Regions from separate parts of the Homo sapiens genome. Here region 2 is linked to region 1. Evidence: promoter capture Hi-C in human tissues and cell types (Jung and others, 2019). All regions are on one chromosome and are shown on one strand. Each heading gives the region's core, a stretch centred on a gene start or on the middle of the fragment in contact. The rest is flanking DNA. Distances are from core to core; before and after follow the strand shown. Region 1 holds the start of FNDC5 (fibronectin type III domain containing 5). Region 2 has its middle 25 kb from the start of TMEM54.

Region 1 (4,403 bases), core at 645-3,144:
AGGTTCCCCTTTCCCCAGCGCTGGACTGGAGGCCAAGACCCCACCAGGACCCTCCCTCCTTTTCTCCCCTGCAGGGACGGGAGTAGATTCTGTGTCCTCTAACTGAACCCTCTCCTTCCTGCTGGTTCCTGTGCTGGAGGCCTGAAGAGGCTCCAGTTGCTCCTGCGGGCCTCCTGGTTGTCTTCCTGTCTGATGGATGGGGGGTGGGGGGTCCCTAGGGGCTAAGCTGCAGCTGGTGGGGCGGGGCCGGGTGGGGTGGGGCAGGCAGCAGCTGCGGGGAGAAAGAGAGAGAAGATAATAAGGGGAGAGAAAGAGAAAGAGAGCAAAGAGAAAAGAGAGAGAGAGGTGCTCTGGCTCCGGGGCTCTTCTCCCAAACGGGTCGAGGTCCCAGCTGAGGCTCTCCCAGGACAAGGTATGTGGCGGGGGAAATGATAGGGCTGGGCAGTGTCACCCTGCCGAGTGGGGCAGGTCTGGGGGCACTGAGGGGATGGGCAGGAAAATTCTGCTGCTCAACAAGAGCCCCTAAGCTCGCTTCCATCTCACCCCTTCCAAGGTGACCAAGGAGGAACACAGGGCCAGCGAAGGAGTCCTGGGTGGGCATAAGGAGAGGAGGGTTGTCTATCGCTCCTCTTGACCCACTGTGTGAATCTGCACCAAGCTCTTCCCATCGGTAGACCTCACTTCCTTAATGTAAAACCAGGGGGATGGAGAGGAAGACCCTGAAGACGTTTCTGTGGCAGAACTTTGCAAGACGTCTCCTTTCCAAAGAAAATTAGCCCTTCCAGGGCTTCTGGAAAACCTTTAAGACCCAAAGGAATGCCCCGCTAGTAGTGGAATTTCGGATAGTCGTGGGAGGGGGCTCAGGGGTTCTTGCTGAGACAAAAGGCCCTGAGCCCTGGTCCATGCCTCTCTCCTCCACCTTGTTTCTCTGGCTGAGATGAGGGAAGGGGGCTGGAGCCACTCCCCTTCTCAGAGATGCTCTTAGAGATTGCTGCAGACTGTTTTCTGGCTGGGGAGGAGCTGGCCCCGGCCAATTCTAGAGTCTCACGAATCTCCGGATGGGTGAAGTCACTCTGGGTGGGGAGACAGTTCAGTTAAGCACAGCTTTGGGAGTCAGATCAGCCTGTGTTCAAATCCTGGCTCTGCTGCGGGTCCCTGGACAAGTCAAGTAGCCTGTCCAAGCTGCAGGCTCCTCCTGTGCAAAGTGTGCAGAGTATGACTTTACAGGGTTGCCCTGAGAATTAAGCCACATAATGCAAAGAAAGCTCAGCATAGTATCTGGCCCCTGGTAGACGCTCATTACTGCCCTCACTATGGGGATGAAAATGAAGGAAAAGGACTGGCCTGGGGTCACAGAGCTGGACTCTCCAGTGAGACAGAGCAGCCTCTTCCCAACCCCACTGGAAACACGGAGCCCTAGTGTCCACTTAGCACTCTCTGCTCACCCCAGCCTTACTGTGATCTCTCCCCTCTGCTCCCGTCTGCCCCAGCCGCAAGGCCTCGGGTCTACCGTGGAATGAGGGGATCCCTAGGCCCAGGGAAGGGAGGCGCGCTTAGGGGTGGGGGCACAAACGGGCATCTCGGTGGCACTTGTCCTCTCTCTACCCTGGGAAAGGGCAGAAAGCGGCAGCCAAGTCAGGGCTGTGCACGGGAGAGAGAGTGACCGCGGCGGGGGCGCGGAGAACCCCGCTGGGCTCCCGCTCGGTGAGAGGGCGGGAGCCGTGGGTCCGCGAAGCCCCTTCCTCCCCGGCAGAGGACCTAATAGGCAGCGGGGGCGGGAGTGGGGGCGCCCTCCGGTCCTCACCCCGCCCCCGCACCTCTCCCCGCAGCGGGGGCGCCCCGCCCCCCGGGCGCCCGACGTGGACGCGGCCGCCGCCACCGCCGCCGCGCGGGAGTCGCTGTCCGCGGAGCCGACATGCAGGCGGCTCGGGGCGGCGCAGGGCGGCCGGAGCGGCCGGGCCGGCCGGGCCGGGGGCCGGAGCGCGAGCGCGAGCGGCCGCCGGGCGCCGGAGCCGCGTCCCCCTGCGCCGCCCCGGGCCTGCCGGCCGGAGGAGCCACCATACACCCCGGGTCGCCGAGCGCCTGGCCGCCCCGCGCCCGCGCCGCGCTCCGCCTGTGGCTGGGCTGCGTCTGCTTCGCGCTGGTGCAGGCGGGTAAGGGGGCCCGGGGCGGGGGGCCGGCGCCGGGGCAGGCTCCTCTCGAGCCCAGCTACCTGGGAGTCCCCTGGTCCTTTCTCTGCCCCCTAGGGACTCCTGTCTCGGCCCAAACACTGCTCCCCTAACCCAGCCCCCAGCGTCTTCCTACCTCCTTGACCCCCAGACCTGTCCTTCAGTTTCCAAATCTCCCCTGTCACCTCAGCCCTGGGTTTCCTAGGGTCTTGTGGTCCCCAGTCCCCTAATCCCATTCCCCTAACCCCAGGTCTTTGCCTCAGCTTCCCTAGCTCCCTTCTTTGACCCAGGGAGCAGCTGAGGACACCAGTTCCCCCACCTGGGCCTCTCTCTGTGTCCCCAGGACCTCTCAAAGCCCTGCAAGCCAACTCTGCAGGGGCAGATGGGGTCCCGCTGTGCAGGAGCACGTGTGAAGGGGATGGGGGCTGGCACCTGAGGGCGCAGGGCGTGGGGTGGGCCCCGGCACCCCTGATCTGGTACAGTGTCTGGCCTGCCCCATGGGGCCGGCCCGTCCTTGCCCAGCCTCTCCTGCCACTCTGTCTTTGTCCCTCCTGGCTGCCGCTGCCCGGCTCATCTCTCCCTCCGTGGCTCGGGGAGCGCTCTCTCGCAGCTGTCTTTCTCAGATGCCCCACTTCTCTGTCCTCTGGTTCTGTGTCTGCCACCACCTGTCTGTGTCCTGTCTCTCCACCTCCCCCTCCATGTCTGGCTCTGTCTCCCTCAGGTCCCAGGCCCAGCCCCCTGGGTCTCAAGTTCACTCTCTGTGGGGTGAGGGGTGCTGCTCAGGCGCAGCTCTGCCCCGTGCTGCACCTGCCCCTTGGAAGATACTGAGCCTTATGTGACTGCACTGCCCCTCTCCTGGACGGTTTTCCTCACTGACCCCCACTATCCCTATCACTCTCACCCCCACTTCCCTCCTGTCTCTTCTGGAGTGATTCCTCATTCATCCTCTTCCCCTACCTGTTCTCTCCTCTCCACTCGCCATGGAGGGGCCCTGCTCTGAGTGACCCCATCTTCCCCTGCCACCTCCCCACCTGCATCTTGGGGCTGGAAGAGCATGGATAAGAGGCTCACACAGACTCTTCCGCAGGCTTTATTCTGCCTGGGCCACCACAGCTCTGAGGATACTTCTGTTCTCCTCACTCCCAGTCCAGGGCTCACCCCAGCCTGACACTTCTCGATCTCTGGGTCTTTCTCCTTCGCGCAAGGTCACTCATTGGACAGGGCAGTATTGTCAAAAGAGCACTGGACTGGGGAGTCCTTTTGTCTGCTTTTCATCAGCTAACCTTCAGTTTCTGTCCACCTATGTCCCCTACATAACTCTCTCCACAACTCTAACCACCCATCCCTTAGATAGGGCCCCGGCCCAGGCCCATCACTTTGAGCCTTGGACCCCTCATGGGGCCGGCCTGTGGCCAGCAGGGGCTTCCGTCCCAGTCATGAGGAGCCTGGGGCCTCTTGGGCTTGGTTCTTCAACCCACTGAAGAGCTGAGAGCCATGTCACTGGACCCCACTTGAGGCCTTAGTTTCTTCCTTCCCCTCCTGCATGGCCTTCCCCAGGTTTCCCCTTCTTACTTATGAGACAGTGGGTCTGGGCCTCACAATAGGGGATGCTCAGGCTTAGGTGCCTCCCCGTCCCCCAGACAGTCCCTCAGCCCCAGTGAACGTCACCGTCAGGCACCTCAAGGCCAACTCTGCAGTGGTGAGCTGGGATGTTCTGGAGGATGAGGTTGTCATCGGATTTGCCATCTCCCAGCAGGTAATGCTCCACTGTCCTTAGGAGGGAAGGACACATCAAGACAGTAGTGGCAGATGGGGGTAGGAGTGTGGCAGTGGTGGTGATGGAGAAATAGAAAGGAAATAGGAACTTGGGGCAAGGGAGATGAACAGCAATTTGGACATATGTCTGAAAATTGGGGCCCCATTCAGACATATGTCTGAAAATTCTCTAGAAGAGAATCAGTCAGTGAGGGAGGGTTTGGGAACTTTCAAGTGGAACACAGAAATTAAGGTTTTGATCTCAGAGACATCTGCATTTAGGACCTAGCTCCAGTGCTTACTAGATGTGTGGCCTTGGGCAACTTCCCCAACCTCTCTGAACCTGTTTCCTTCCCTGTAAAATGGAGATATTGATAGCGGAGGTGATGGAATGATGAAGATTGTGTATGTAAAGGCTTTGTCACCACTGGGAGGTGGGCAGGAGCGGGGCTGGTCACCGAGTGTTGACAGCAGTGACCG
Region 2 (4,403 bases), core at 1,171-3,670, 56 kb before region 1:
TGCATCGATCTCACGTACTCATTACCAGTTCCTTTAGGCACAGTTGTAGTAGACGCACTCGGCGACTGGTAGAATCTGCACATTGAGTGACTCATGGAGTGAAAGCTGTTGTGGTAAGAAGAGCAAAGGGAACCCTTGAAATTGCCCTTTCCCACCAAAAACATAAACCAAAAGCGATAGTGCATCCCTAAGGGAATGATGGATATTAGTGTCCGCATCAAAGACAGAAATTTCAGGAATGATGGCTCCTATCATATCCACATTTAATTTACTTGTTTGGCCTATGCAGGACTTGATTTTTAGCTGTTATTTTAGATATAATCTCTTTATGAAGCAAATCAACACCTGCCCCGGCCCCTACAGTCGTGCAACTGAATATGAGTACTGACCTGGAATATGCTTTTTTCTCTAGCCCAAATAGCAGAAAACATCAAAAACAGATTACTTTCACCTGTCAGGGTCAACAGTACATTACACTGTCCTGCATCTGGGTTATATCACCCTTGCAGCTCTGTTGCAGTCTAATCTGCAGGCACTTTAATCATCTCACATCTCCCAGAACATTGTTCTACATGTCTGGAATCTTGCAAGCAAGAAGTAGCAGGTATCCAAATGCCCTGGTAAAACATGTGTTCTAAGGATAGGAGATAATCCCTGTGGAAATTAAGAGAATGTCTACCTCCGTGATTTGGGTCACCCCACCAGATAAAGAACTTAATCCAGTTCATATACTGGCTGAGGAAGAAGGATCATGGACTGGATGGTGGAGAAAGAAATATATATAAATAGAAACAACTAACTCATGAAAAGCTGAGAAACGGGCACTATATTAGCATTTCATATTTTCTTCCTTGCTCTATTGTGTTAATTTATAGATATTAACTCATTTTCCCCTCCCATATTTTCCCTAGTATAATGAAATGTATTACTGTTGGTAACTTGTTAATTTAGTGTTTAGATTATATGCTGTTATGGTAGAATTGTAACTGAACTAGAATGATAATCACCCAGGGTGGATCAGCTAGCTATGTGACTGATGGGATTTGGGGTCTCTTATTTTAAGGAGCGGATTTAGGTCCCTAAAAGTCCAAAAAGATAGACTGTGTAGACATGGTGAACTGACTTTCAACATCCATTCCAAACACTTCCTCATACTGCAGAGGCTGCAAAGATAAAAACTATTTCCCAGACTCCCATGCAGCTAACATTCCGCATACAAGTTGGAGTCTACCCCATCAATGGATGAAAAAATAAAGAAAATGTATTTATAAATGATGGAATACTATTCAGCCTTGAAAAAGAAAGAAATTCTGTTATTTGCAACAACATGGATGGAGCTGGAGAACATTATGCTAAGTGAAATAAGCCAGGCACAGACTAATACCACGTTACCACTTGCATGTAGAATCTAAAACAATTGAATCCATAGAAACAAAGTAGAATGGTGGTTACCAGAGGCTGAGGGCTGAGGGGAATAGGGAAAATGATGGTCAAAGGGTACAAGACCTCAGGAGGAATACGTTTGTTTGTTTGTTTGTTTGTTTGTTTGTTTTGAGATCTATTGCACAGCATGGTGAATATAGTTAATAATAGTTGATAGAGTTTGGATATTTGTGCCCATATAAATCTCAGGTTGAATTGTAATCCCCAGTGCTGGAGATGGGGCCTGGTGGGAAGTGATTGGATCATGGGGTGGATCTTTCACGGATTGATGCTGTCCTCACAATAGTGAGTCTAGAGATCTGGTTGACTGAAAGTGTGTGGCACCTCCCCCACCTCTCTATTTCTCTGGCTTTCACCAGTATTAAGTGCTCTGCCTTCCACCATGAATAAAAGCTTCCTGAGGCCTCCCCAGAAGCCAAGCAGATGCCAGGTACCATGCTTGCACAGCCTACAGAACCATGAGCCAATTAAACCTGTTTTCTTTATAAATTATCCAGTCTCAGGTATTCCTTTATAGTAATTTGAGAATGGCCTAATACAATAGTATATGATTGTACATTTCAAATGTACATCATTTGAAGAGTAAATTTCAAATGTTCTTGTGATACCGTAACTTGTATTAAGTTGATTGACTCTCTCTTAGCTGAGAAAGCGAGATGGACTCCATTTGGCTCCTTCCTTTGCAAGACATCAAGGGCTCCTTACCCACCCCCTTCCTCAAGGACTTGTGCAAGCTGACTCTCAGCATATCAAAGAGTGCAATTAACTGATAAGGTACTGTGGCAAGCTATGTCCGCGATTCCCAGGAATTCGCCCAGGTGATGGTACCCTAAAGCCCCTGCATTTGTGTCCAGCAGATAGCACCCAGAGCCCCCGCACCTATCAGCTTGTGATGAATTTAAAACCCCTGCACCTGGAACTGTTTGTTTTCCTGTAACCATTTGTCTTTTTAACTTTTTTTTTTTTTTTTTTTTTTTTTTTTGCCTGTTTTACTTCTGTAAGATTGCTACAGCTAGGCTCCCCGTCCCCTCTCTAAACCAAAGTGTAAAAGAAAATCTAGCCCCTTCTTCGGGGCCGAGAGAATTTTGAGCTCTAGCCATCTCTCGGTCGCCATGTAATAAAAGACTCCTGAATTAGTTTCAAAATGTGGTGTTTCTCTATAACTCGCTTGGTTACAACATTTGGAGGCCCCAGCGAGAAATTCGCCCCTGGGTGAGAGCCCGACTCGTTCCAGGCTCCCCCGGACAGACGGCGGACTTACAGGGGAGGCGCCACCTGAAGACGTTCCAGGGCCCCATAAGACCCTATCTTCCGGAGGGGAACGGATCGACCACCGGTGTGTGCCCACAAAAAATTCAACTCCTAAGTCCTCAGTTTCTAGTCCCGGGAAGGTAAGTCAGATCTGACTCTGTTTCTCTGGGAGGGAAGTGGCTCTGATGAAGGCCGTCCCTTTTTGACTCTGCTCGCATTCCAGGACGCTGGAGGACGGAGTCCTGGTTTTCTGTTAGGCGCCTCTGTGTCTCTCTGAGAGGGAAGCAGCCCTGACGAGGGCCCTCCCGTGACTCTGTCCATATTCTAGGACGCTGGAGGACTGAGTCCTGGTTTCTGGCAGGCCAGCCTCTCCGTTAAGTCTAGGCTGTCTGTCTCTCTCTCTCTCTCTTCTCTCTCTCGCTCTCTCTCTTTCTCTCTCTCTCCTCTCTCTCCCTCCCTCCCTCTTTCTCTATCTCTTCTTCTTTCAGGTCTCCTGGAGACCTCTGTTTTAGAACGGGAATTAAAAAAAAAAACCTGTTGTAAACTCTGTGTGAATCAGTGCATGTATGTGGAGTTCAAGGGCTTGCGCTTGAATTTCCAGTTTGTAGCTCCACCGTGAAAGCTACGGAATTCGAGAGGGCCCTCACCTACTGTTCCGTGGCGACCTCATACGGCTTAAGGCAGCATCTGGCATAGCTCCATCTGAGCCGGGGGTTTATACCGGTCTGCCAATGCGAAGAGGAGCCTAAGTCCCCTCAGGGGGAGCAGCCAGGCGGGCATCTGACTGATCCCATCACGGGACCCCCTCCCCTTGTCTGTCTATAAAAATTGTCATAATTGTTTATATACCCCAGTGTCTATTGTCTTGTTTAGTGTCTATTGTCCTGTCTGGTGTCTGTCTAAGTTTCTTATGTCTGGTCGTTGATATTGCCCAAGACGACTGGGCAAGGACTTCTTCAAAGTCCTGAGTGCAGATTTTCTAACACAGGAGGTCTCAGGCGTGTCTCTTCGGGTTGCCGGGCCCAGGGGCCAGGCGCGCCTCCACCAGTTTACACAACAGCCTCCTTTCCCTCGGCAGAGGCTCCCCGACCTGCAGGCGAGGAGTGGGAGGGGACGGCGCAGGACCCCCTCCCCCAGGGACCCCCGCGGGCGCCTGACTCCTGCGCCTTCAGGGGTCAAAACCCCTGACATCCCTGAGCACCAGCGCGTCCACACCCGGCTCGGAACGCAGGGGCCCGGCCTGCTGTGGTGACCTTAGCCCCGGGCTGGGCTTCTGAGCCGGGCTTGCAGTGCCTGACGGGGCCTGGAGGCGGGGCGGGGGACCACAGAGTCGTCCTGGCGACACAGGGGACCCAGCGCTGCCCGGCACAGCTCCTCCCAGCCTCAGAAGATCCGAGTGGCCCCTTTCCTCCACATCCCCATCCCTTACCCCGCACATCTCGTTTTCCTGTGTCACAGCAAGTCCAGCGCCCCCAAGATTTGGCTCTACTCTCCCTTTTTAAACCCTTAAAAGAAAAGGCCAAGTTTGAACTTTTTGCCTCCCAGTCGTGGAGACACCAAAAATATTTAGGCTATAGGTCAAGGAGGAGTGAGGGATCACATTGGTCCCACTGACCTCGGACCTGCCTCTTGTCCTCCCCCTAGATCTCAAAGCTTAAAGAGACAGTCCTTATGTGGCAAGAAGTGTTGGACTATAGTTGTTTTCCTGC

What was found. Contacts are between HindIII fragments. The study calls those that stand out against the background at their distance.
Region 2: a contact is called between a fragment that was not itself captured here and the fragment with the promoter of FNDC5 in region 1, in 3 of the 25 tissues and cell types used here (H1 embryonic stem cells, IMR-90 fibroblasts and spleen).

Annotation. Positions count from the first base shown.
Region 1 is chr1:32,868,403-32,872,805 of GRCh38, reverse strand. FNDC5 (fibronectin type III domain containing 5) reads left to right here and starts at 1,894. Exons shown (of 6, transcript NM_001441683.1): 1 at 1,894-2,153; 2 at 3,809-3,924. The coding sequence starts at 1,916. RefSeq lists an enhancer at 1-126. The HindIII fragment of the contact is 14,778 bases long and covers 1-4,403 here.
Region 2 is chr1:32,924,555-32,928,957 of GRCh38, reverse strand. No RefSeq gene overlaps it. Among named protein-coding and RNA genes, the nearest start is that of TMEM54, 25 kb to the right of the region's middle. RefSeq lists an enhancer at 3,383-3,926. The HindIII fragment of the contact is 6,638 bases long and covers 1-4,403 here.